Regions from separate parts of the Homo sapiens genome. Here regions 1, 3 and 4 are each linked to region 2. The links are contacts of gene promoters, found by promoter capture Hi-C in blood cells and fetal thymus (Javierre and others, 2016). All regions are on one chromosome and are shown on one strand. Each heading gives the region's core, a stretch centred on a gene start or on the middle of the fragment in contact. The rest is flanking DNA. Distances are from core to core; before and after follow the strand shown.

Region 1 (2,700 bases), core at 175-2,674, 320 kb after region 2:
AGGCTGTGTGGAGCCAGCAGCCCGTGAGTTGCCCTGGTCAGCTCTCACCGTTGTGTGACATGCCCAGTGCCAGGCACTTCTGGAAGCGGCAGTACTGGCACTTGTTGCGGTTCTTCTTCTGAATCTTGCAGCTGCGCTCACACTTCTCGTACTCCAGCTTCATGCGGATCGTACGACGGAAGAAGCCCTGAAGCACCAAGAACAGGTGAGGAAAGGCCACCAGGAGGTGGGAGGGAGGCTGTGCCAAAGGGCCCGATTATGTATAAGGTGTAAACACTCCTGACATTTGGAAGTAACGAGAAGAAATTTTTTTGGAGGGGAGATGGAGAAGGAAAGTAATTCTAAAACTTTAATTAAAACTATTTTAGTTCAGGCACAGTGGCTCACGCCTGTAATCCCAGCACTTTGAGAGGCCGAGGTGGGCGGATCACCTGAGGTCAGGAGTTTGAGACCAGCCTGGCCAACATGGTGAAACCCCGTCTCTACTAAAAATACAGAAAAATTAGCTGGGTGTAGTGGCACACCCCTGTAATCCCAGCTACTCAGGAGGCTGAGGCAGGGGAATCGCTTGAACCCGGGAGGTGGAGGTTGCAGTCAGCCAAGATCGCGCCATTACACTCCAGCCTGGACAACAAGAGTGAAACTCCATCTCAAAACAAAACAAAACAAAATAAAACAAAACAAAACAAAAAAAAAACACAACTATTTTAAATGTCTAAAGAAGTCCTAAAGCTTCTTTGTTGGGGCTGGACACAGTGGCTCACGCCTGTAATCCCAGCACTTTGGGAGGCCGAGGTGGGTGGATCACCTGAGGTCAGGAGTTCAAGACCAGCCTAGCCAACATGGTGAAACCCCGTCCCTATTAAAACTACAAAAATTGGGTCAGGCACAGTGGTTCACACCTGTAATCCTAGCACTTTGGGAGGCCAAGGCAGGTGGATCACCTGAGGTCAGGAGTTCGAGACCAGCCTGGCCAATGTGGTGAAACCCCATCTCTACTAAAAATACAAAAATTAGCCAGGCATGGTGGCATGTACCTGTAATCCCAGCTACTCTGGAGGCTCAGGCAGGAGAATCTCCTGAACCCGGGAGGTGGAGGTTGCAGTTAACTGAGATCACGCCACTGCACTCCAGCCTGGGCGACAGATCGAGATTCCATCTCAAAAAAAAAAAAAAAAAAAAAAAAAGCTTCTTTGTTAGTTTGGTAACATAAGATTGTCTCACGGCTAACTTGATTTCTTCATAAATGTATCTGGTTCTGTGTATTTGTGAGGTGGTGATTCAATAAAATAATCTGTGAGATTTTGATGGGTGTGAAGTTAGGAAGGACCCACAAATATCACTGGAAAAACAAATGTCTGTCCTTTTTTCTCAGAGCCCGCTTTGAGCCTTGAGAAACAAGAAACCCAGACCTCAGGTAAGACGATGGCTCAGCCCAAGACCCTCATTCTGCCCTAGCTGCCTGGTCCCCAGGGGGACACAATCACCCACAGAGCTGGGTCAACACAGGTGCCCAGCAGGGTAGGCTTGACAAGGGAACCCCCTCTTCTCCTGCAGTGCCCAGAGCTGAGGTCTGGAGCACAAGGGCCTGGCTGCCTCCTGGGCAGGAATTCTGCAATAGGTACAGTCAGGGCCCCACCCCAAGGCAAGGAAAGCTTTGTGGAGGGTCAATTCACCATGTGACCACAGCCTCAGTGGCCAGCCACCGCTCCCCCCAGTCCGTACCTTGCACCCCTCACATGCATGAACACCGTAGTGGAAGCCCGATGCCTTGTCCCCGCACACCCGGCACTCCATGTTGAGGCTGCCGCATGAGGCCCCGTCACAGCCCATCTGCAGTTGGTCCAGCAGTGAGGGTGGCGAGGAGCTCCGGGAGAGGTCTGCGGACACACGATGGAGGGGCAGCTCCACATGCTGCCAGGCCTGGAAGCCAGGGCGTGGGAACAGCCCCACAGCCCTCGCCTCAGCCACTTAACAGCTGTGTGGCCTCAGGGAGTCAACCTTTCTGAGGACCAGTTTCTTCACCTAGAACAGGGGGTACTGACAGCTTCTCTGGGAGGATGGGCAAAAAGTCTCCACAGCATTTCTCCCAGAGCCTAACATACAGAAGATGTCCAGTACACAGCAGCTATTACCATCAGGGCTGGGTCAGAGGCTTCCTGGGCTGAACTCACCATGGGGTAGCAGTGGGGAGGAGGATGGCTGTGTTTTGGGAGGAAAGCAAGAGAGAGAAAGCAGACAGAGGGTCTTAGCCCTTAGGAAGCAGCTCTCCTGGTTCAGAGGTTGCCACCGTGTGGCCCATATGGAGATGTGTGCAACGTGTTTTGCAGAAACTGCAGGACTGTAGACCTCTGCAGAGCTAGCCTCCCCACCATCCCCCACAGGAAGTTCTATTCTTGCATAGACTCCAGGGATGCTGTAAACAATCTCTTCAAGAAGCTCAAGTTCATTCCCATGAAAACTTCTTGAGTAGAACAGCTTAGGTATCAGTCATATTGATTAAGCAACACACTGAATTTCTCCAAGTTTTTCTATCAGACGTATAGATGTTTGAACCACGGGGTGTTGAGTGTGTTGGCGAGAAAGGCAGTTTGCTAAGGCTATGACTTCAGGATATATCTGCTGTCAGATGATTTCATAAGAACTGCTAGGATTCTCTTCCCAGTGCCCTTTGGACACTCGGAAATGATCTCTTCATCT
Region 2 (2,700 bases), core at 167-2,666:
TGTTGTCCTTGTCATCCAGCATGTAGCCCAGCAACACGATGTCATCCGTAGTACAAGCAGAGGCCTGGAGTATTGGGGAGAGATGGAAGAGGCAGGAGAAGCGGGTGTTCTGGGCCCACTGCCCCCCATGTCACCAAGATCCCTCCGCACACCCCCCCCCCACCGCTATCAGCCAGAGAGAGGTCCCAGGATATAGTCTGGCCATTCCAGGGGCAGGGATCGGCCGTAACCCCCAGGGGCCAGGCCGGCTAGGGGGGACCTCCTGCTTCCCTTACCTCAGCCTCCAGCAAGTACACACAGCGAGTGATACTGTGCAGGATCATGCTCTTGGCATACTCATCCTGTTTGCACTCCAAAGAGTTGAGGAGCCTCCGGAGCTCACCTGAGTCCCGCCCGTGCCGCTCTCGCTCGACTGCCAGGCCTAGACAGCCACCCCAGCCCAGTTCAGGCTGTGGACTCAGAAGTGATGAAAGAATGGGGTTGGGAAGTAGGGGACAGGGACTTGGGGACAAGGCTGCCTTGCCTTTTCGGAGAAGCCTTCTCGCCATATGCAGGACCACCATGTACAGTTGAACGAATGTTTACTGCACAAGGGCACCCTATCTAATGTTGTATTGTCCATAACGTACCATCATAGATTTGTCCATTTACTCTAACAACTGTCTGGCATATGGCGGTAACAAGTAGTATTTCATCATAACCAGTATGTGGCAATGATATTCCAGCAGATGGCAATAAAGAGTCTTGCAGAAGGGGCTCATTTTCCTACTCTGCACAAAAGAACATGTGGACTAGTGGAAGCTCTGGGCATATAGTAAGTCCTCCAATCTTCCCTTTCCTTAAAGCCTCACGTTCCTAGGGCAGAAAAGGGATGGGGGGAGCTGCCGACACCAAGTTTCCAAGAAGTGGAATCCTGGGAGCCAGAGGAAATGTAGTATTTGGAGACCTGCCAGATGAGTCTGAGGATCCACTTGAGTGAGATCCAGGGACCCTGAGCTAGCATCTCTGGCAGGGCCTTGCCTAGGACGCTGCAGGGTGGGCTTGAGGAAGATGGACAAGAGAAAGACAAAGGAAAGAGGAACTTGGAGGCATCACCTTTGGGCCCTCCCACAGCAGAGGCCTCGGGAGCAGGTGCCTCCTGGGGCAGAGCCCTCTCCCCAGGGCCCGGACACTCACGGGCGATGCAGATGGGTGAGTTGCTACAGAGGGGTGGTTTGCATTTTATGCCAGCCTTGATGGCCTTGTAGAGCAGGTAGATCGCCCCGGCGCCTGTGGCCAGGCTGACTACGCTTTTGCGGATGTCCAGTTGCCCCAGGTATTGGGGGATGCTCTTGCCCATGTCTTCAGTGTTGCCCTGGGCCCAGGTGAGAGCTAGGCCCAAGGCACCTGTGGGGGGCCTTCCGGAACCAGAACTCTGGCAGGGTCAGGAACCAGGGTACCAGAATTGGAACCTAGGCAACAAAGGAAACTGGGGAGATAATGGGATGGAGGGCAGTGGTCAGGAAATGGGGCAGCCAGGAGTGCTCGAGAACAGATGGGGCCAGGCACCATGGCCCACACTTGTAATCCCAGCACTTTGGGAGGCCAAGGCAGGCAGATCACTTGAGGTCAGCAGTTCGAGACCAGCCTGGCCAATATGGTGAAACCTTGTCTCTATTAAAAATACAAAAAAATTAGCCAGGCATTGTGGCGCACACATGTAATCCCAGCTACTCAGGGGACTGAGGCAGGAGAATCGCTTAAGCCTGGGAGGTTGAGGTTGCAGTGAGCTGACACGCCACTGTACTCCAACCTAAGCGACAGAGCAAGACTCCATTTCAAAAAAAAAAAGAGAAGGTTCTGCTTTAGAGACCACAGGAGATGAAGCATAAGACAGAAGGGGAATAAAAGGGGAGAGGGCAGAAGTGTCCTTCACATCTCCTCTTCTTTAAGGGGGGACCCCAGCAGGTAGCTCCAGAGGCTGCCTTTCCACCATTAGAGGGCAGCAGAGGTCCATTTCCGGGCTGGGGCCTTAGGGCATTTCTGGGTGAGGTGTTTGGGGTATGCCCATTGACAACCCTGTTCCTTTTCTTTCCGGGCCCTCCCATATGTGATCTCTCCACCCTAGATCTACCCCTGGGCCTTGGGGTGTTTCTTCAGGTAGGGTTCCCTCCCCGCATCAGAGGATGAAAAGGAGGGGAGTATCTTAGAAAGCATGCACAGACTCTTGAGGCAAATCCACCCTTTTCCAGCATCTGCATGTTGCCCTGAAGTTTACCTGTTTGACAAAGTGCTCTTGAGGACAGCTACCTTTGCATCTCCAGCATAGAATCTTGTACTTAGCAGGTGGTTTAAGTCATGTTCTGCCATTCTTTAAGGACTTGGCGGCAGAACAATGACAGCATCTAGTAACTGGGGCTCCAGACCCTTCTAACCAGAGTGACCTTGGAGGAGAAAGGGATCGCCTTTGCCTTAGTCTGTTTCTGCATTTGTAACCTAAAGGGATTCGGATTTACCATTCTAAAACTCCAGGATTAAAATGTGGGTAAGTCTGTGCCTTTCAGCTAAATTTGGAAGTATCACCTCTCAGCCTCCCCAGGGATATGAGGCGGCTTGTGAGGTCCTCTGGAGTCAGAAGATGCCACCACCCCAGAGGATGTGAGCCCACCTGTGGAGGTCTTGATCCCCACCACTAGGATGGGGCAGGTGAGACCAGACCCT
Region 3 (2,700 bases), core at 20-2,519, 270 kb after region 2:
GGCTGGGGCAGAGATAGTTCAAGACTTTCAGCGGCCGGGCACAGTGGCTCACACCTGTAATCCCAGCACTTTGAGAGGCTGAGGCGGGTGGATCACGAGGTCAGATCAAGACCATCCTGGCTAACATGGTGAAACCCCGTCTCTACTAAAAAAAAAAAAATGCAAAAAATTAGGCAGGTGTGGTGGCACACGCCTGTAGTCCCAAATACTCAGGAGGCTAAGGCAGGAGAATAGCTTGAACCCGGGAGGTGGAGGTTGCATTGCAGTGAGCCGAGATTGCACCACTGCACTCCAGCCTGGGTGACAGAGCTAAACTCCGTCTCAAAAAAAAAAAAAAAAAGCTTTAAGCAAACATTTTCCCAAAGAGGCTGTTCTAGCTTTTTCTCCTGCAGTTAAATATGGGTGAACTGATTGGACTCACTTGTCACAGGATGAAACTGTATTTGCTCTAAGGGTGGCAGGCTAGAGATGAGACTCTAGAATAAAGGGTTAAACAGAATGGGGATGACCCAGTTAAATTTTAATTTCAGATAAACAGATGATTTAAGTATGTTCCATGCAATACTAAGGACATCCTGCATTTTTATTTGCTAAATCTGGCAACCCTCTAGAATCTAGTCTTCTAGGTCATTCTAGTCCAACCTTCAAGTTAACAGATCGGGAGAACTTGAGACATGTTAAATGTACTTCTCACAGCCAGTCACTGCCAACATCAGGATTCCAACCTGGTCTGCCTGACTCCACGTTGTGTGCCTGGTATCCCACTAGGAGCCCCAAACTGTCACCTGCTGGATGGGTGGGAGGGTACCGAGCCCCAGTAGGTAGGAGGGGTCCAGGAAGCAGAAATTCCTGGAGGCTGCACTGGACACCGATTACATCTGTGGGCGATTAGCACACGAGCCTTCAGATAATTGCTTTTGCTTTAAGCTGAAGTTTCCCTTTTCCTTCTGATTGCAAAGATCACAGGAGGTTCAGAAAATACAGAAAAGCCCAAAGAAAAGAAAAATAACCACAACAAGTAGCTGGCTGGACCTGTCTTGAGAACCAAAATTCACTGCTCATCCTCATTAGGTTTTATACCTTTCTTACCAAGAAAGTGCTGTTAACTTCTTAAAAGCTAAAAAAGCAAAAGCTGCTCAGAGTAAAAACCCTGTGTTCTTCATTTCAGGGACAGGGAAGGCTTGTTTTGAGAAATGCAGCATCTCCCCCGACCCCCCGACTCCCACACATACCACCGATGGACTCTTGCTGTTGCCCAGGCTAGAGTGCAGTGGTGCGATCTCAGCTCACTGCAACCTCCACCTCCCAGGTTCAAACAGTTCTGCCTCGGCCTCCCAAGTAGCTGGGATCACAGGCGTGAGCCACCGCACCCAGCCAAAATACAGCATTGTTAAGCACTGCTTTTATGCTTTAAAATAACCGTTCTCAGCCGGGGGTGGTGGCTCACGCCTGTAATCCCAGAACTTTGGGAGGCCCAGACGGGCGGATCACAAGGTCAGGAGATGGAGACCCTCCTGGCTAACACGGTGAAACCCTGTCTCTACTAAAAATACCAAAAAACTAGCCGGGCATAGTGGCGGGCGCTTGTAGTCCCAGCTACTCGGGAGGCTGAGGCAGAATGGCATGAACCCAGGAGGCGGAGCTTGCAGTGAGCCCAGATCACGCCACTTATACTCCAGCCTGGGGAATGGAGCGAAGACTCAAAAAAAAAAAAAGCAGGGATGAACTTGTTCCCCTATTTACCAAAGTCAAACTAAGCTCATTTTAGTCAAAGGTTAAAGCAGTACTGGGTGCTAGAGGCAAGAACTGCCAACAGGGAAATGCCTCAGAAAAGGAGGGGGCTTAGCCTGCCTGGGGCAAGGACCTGGAATACTGTTAACAGGATCTGGCTGGGGATGGTGACTCACACCTGTAATCCCAGCACTTTGAGAGGCCGAGGCAGAATTGCTTGAACTGGGACCCACAGATTGAGATCGCACCATTGCGCTCCAGCCTGGGCTACAAACTCCATTTAAAAAAAAAAAACAAGGTCCATTAATTATACTTTTGTACTGGTTTGCTGTGCCTTGTTTTCCTTAACATTTACTCATTACTAACCCAAAGCATAGGATACTCCACATGTGGTCTTCTTAACACAGAAATGCTGACTAAAATCCTTATTTTAAATTTACATGGACCAATCCTGTCAAAAAGCTTCAATGCCGTTAGCAACCCTATCACATATGCAAGACTGCCTGATTTTGATGGCAGAAAAACATCCTCTTCCCTATAGTACCCAACTATCCATCATCAAAGTGACAAACTACACAACTAGCCATCAGCAGTGCCAAGGCCCTCACTTGTCAGCTGACAAACCACCCCCCACCCTCAATCACAGGCAGACAGAGGGAACTGGTAATAGAATTTATTCAAATGTGCCTTAATATAGGCGCTGGGGCTTGCCCATGGTGCTCTTGATATATAAGGCCCGGACATTCTGCCAGTTTTTCTTGAGCAATGACACCAAGAAGTTGACAGCCAGGTGAATGTTATACACAAGCTCATCGTCTGTCATCTTCACGTGACCAACAGCTACAGCCAGACATAACACCTGGGAGGAGGGAAGAGAGGATCAAGTCAGGTTGGTGGACGAATAGCAGATGGCCTGTCCTTCCTCCCCCAGTGGCCTGGTGAGCAGGTACTTGGACCCGGGCCAAGACC
Region 4 (2,700 bases), core at 100-2,599, 420 kb after region 2:
TGATATATTTGACAACATAGATGAAGCCTGAAAACATTTCTAAGTAAAAGAAACCAGACACAAAGGGACAAATATTTTATGATTCTATTTATGTAAGATACCTAGAAAAGGCAAATTCATGGAGACAGAAAGCAGAATAGAGGATACTAGGAGCTGGGGTCAGGGAGTATGAGGAGTTATTGCTTGGTAGGTACAGAGTTTCTGTTTGGTGTGATGAAAAAGTTTTGGAAATAGATAGTGGTGATGGTTGTACAATATTGTGAGTATAGATCTTTCACCATGATCAGATGGGATTCATCCCAGGGATGCAAGGATGGTTCAACATGCACAAATCAATATGCATGACACATCATAGTAACAGAACCAAGAGCAAAAACCATATATGATCATTTCAATAGACCCTGAAAAAGCTTTCTAAAAAAATTCAACATCGTGTTATAAAAGCCCTAAAATATTGGGTATAGAGGCAACATACCTTAAAATAATAAACGCTATCTATGACAAACTCACAGCTAACATTGTAATAAATGGAGAAAAATTGAAAGCCTTTCCTCTAAGATCTGGAACAAGACAAGGATGCCCACTTTTACCACTTTTATTCCATGTAGTATTGGGAGTTCTGGCCAGAGCAATTAGGCAAGAGAAGGAAATGAAGGGCATCCAAACTGGAAATGAAGAAGTCAGATTAGCCTTGTTTGCAGATGGCATGGTCTTCTACTTAGAAAAATCTAAAGACTCCATGGGGCGTGGTGGCTTACACTTGTAATCCTAACACTTTGGGAAGCTGAGGTGGTTGGATTGCTTGAGGCCAGGAGTTCGACACCAGCCTGGGCAATACAGTGAGATCCTGTCTCTCTCTTAAAAAAAAAAAAAAGGCCGGGCACAGTGGCTTATACCTGTAATCCCAGCACTTTGGGAGGCCGAGGTGGGCAGATCATCTGAGGTCAGGAGTTTGAGACCAGCCTGGCCAACACGGTGAAATGCTGTCTCTACTAAAAATACAAAAAAAAAAAAAATTAGCCAGGTGTGGTGGCAGGTGCCTGTAATCCCAGCTAACTTGGGAGGCTGAGGCAGGAGAATCACTTGAACTCGGGAGGCGGAGGTTGCAGTGAGCTGAGATCGTGCCATTGCACTCCAGCCTGGGCGATAAAAGCAAGACTCCTCCTCCTCCTCAAAAAAAAAAAAAAAAAAAAAAGGGACTCCAACAAAAAACCGTTAGAGTTGATGAATGAATTCAGTAAAGTTGCAGGATAATTCAACATACAAAACCCAGTAGCATTTGTATACGCTAACAGCAAACAATCTGAAAAAGAAGTTGAGTGCAATCCCATTTCCAACAGCTACAAAGAATGTAAAATACCTAAGAATCGATGTAACCAAAGTGAAAGATCTATACAAGAAAAACTATAAAACTGATGAAATAAATTGAAGAGGATGCAAAAAAATGGAGAGATATCCCATGCTATGTATTGGAAAAATTAATATTGTTAAAATAACAATATTACCCAAAGCAATTTATAGATTTGGTGCAATCTCTGTCAAAATAGCAAAGGCATTCTTCATAGATATAGAAAAAAAATCCTAAAATTTATACGGAACTACAAAAGACCTCAAATAGCCAAAGTAAGCCTGAGTAAAAAGAACGAAGCTGGAGGCATCACATTTCCTGACTTCAAAATACACTACGAACTGGCCACGGTGGTACACACCTATAGCCCCAGCTATTCAGGAGGCTGAAGCAGGAGGATCCCATGAGCCCAAGGAGACTGAGGCTGCAGTGACCTATGATCATACCACTGCACTCCAGCCTGGACACCAGAGAAAAATCCTGTCTCTAAAATAAAACAAAAAAACAAAATGTAGTACAAAGCTATAGTAACCAAATCAGCATAGTACTGGCATAAAAAGAGACACAAAGACCAATGGAACAGAATAGATAACCTAGATATAAATCCATGCATTTACAGAGAACTCATTTTTGACAAAGGCTCCAGGAACACACAATGGGGAAAGAACAGTCCTTTCAATAAATGGTTCTGGGAAAACTAAATAACCACATGCAGATGAATGAAACTAGACCCCTATCTCTCACCATATAAAAAAATCAAATAAAAATGGATTAAACATTTAAATGTAAGACCTGAAACTATGAAACTACTAGAAGAAAACATTGGAGAAATATTCCAGGACATTGGTCTGGGCAAAGAGATTTTTTGTGGAAGACCTCAAAAGCATAGGCAACCAAACCAAAAATAGAAAAATGGGATTATGTCAAGCTAAAAAGCTTCAGGACAGCCATGGAAACAATCAACAAAGTGAAGAGACAACCCACAGAATAGGAGAAAATATTTGCAAAGTATCAATCTGACGAGGGATTAATAACCAGAATATATAAGGAGCTCAAACAACTCTGTAACAAAAAACCAAATAATCCAGTTTAAAAATGGGCAAAAGATCTGAATAGATATTTCTCAAAAGAAGACATACAAATGGTCAACAGAGATATGAAAAAATGCTCAATGTCACTAATCATCAGAGAAAAGCAAATCAAAATTAAATGAGATATCATTTCATCCCAGTTAAAATGGCTTTTTACAAAAAAAATAGAGAACATCTTTTTTTTTTTTTTTTTTTTGAGATAGAGTTTCACTCCTGTCACCCAGGCTGAAGTGCAATGGTGCAATCTTGACTCACTGCAAC

The links. Contacts are between HindIII fragments. The CHiCAGO score rates a contact against its expected background, and 5 or more counts as called.
Region 1: a contact is called between a fragment that was not itself captured here and the fragment with the promoter of ARMC12 in region 2, in 1 of 17 cell types (naive CD4 T cells). The highest score is 5.8, in naive CD4 T cells.
Region 3: a fragment that was not itself captured here is called in contact with the fragment with the promoter of ARMC12 in region 2 in 6 of 17 cell types (naive CD4 T cells, fetal thymus, naive CD8 T cells and 3 more); the score reaches 8.5 in naive CD4 T cells.
Region 4: a contact is called between a fragment that was not itself captured here and the fragment with the promoter of ARMC12 in region 2, in 2 of 17 cell types (total CD4 T cells and non-activated CD4 T cells). The highest score is 5.6, in total CD4 T cells.

What each region holds. Positions count from the first base shown.
Region 1 is chr6:35,419,307-35,422,006 of GRCh38, reverse strand. It overlaps PPARD (peroxisome proliferator activated receptor delta), which reads right to left. Exons shown (of 8, transcript NM_006238.5): 4 at 1,726-1,880; 5 at 49-187. Among named protein-coding and RNA genes, the nearest start is that of FANCE, 32 kb to the left of the region's middle. The HindIII fragment of the contact is 467 bases long and covers 1,191-1,657 here.
Region 2 is chr6:35,735,748-35,738,447 of GRCh38, reverse strand. ARMC12 (armadillo repeat containing 12) reads right to left here and starts at 1,416. Exons shown (of 6, transcript NM_001286574.2): 1 at 1,177-1,416; 2 at 276-421; 3 at 1-64. The coding sequence starts at 1,339. It overlaps LOC285847 (a long non-coding RNA gene), which reads left to right and starts at 1,501. Exons shown (of 10, transcript NR_027117.2): 1 at 1,501-1,607; 2 at 2,570-2,685. RefSeq lists enhancers at 1-527, 528-1,136. The HindIII fragment of the contact is 11,422 bases long and covers 1-2,700 here.
Region 3 is chr6:35,470,470-35,473,169 of GRCh38, reverse strand. RPL10A (ribosomal protein L10a) reads right to left here. Exons shown (of 6, transcript NM_007104.5): 6 at 2,390-2,590. The coding sequence ends at 2,420. MIR7111 (microRNA 7111) reads right to left here and starts at 2,662; the gene lies at 2,591-2,662. The HindIII fragment of the contact is 1,852 bases long and covers 344-2,195 here.
Region 4 is chr6:35,314,343-35,317,042 of GRCh38, reverse strand. The region is part of intron 5 of DEF6 (DEF6 guanine nucleotide exchange factor); the gene reads right to left. Among named protein-coding and RNA genes, the nearest start is that of DEF6, 18 kb to the right of the region's middle. The HindIII fragment of the contact is 1,874 bases long and covers 413-2,286 here.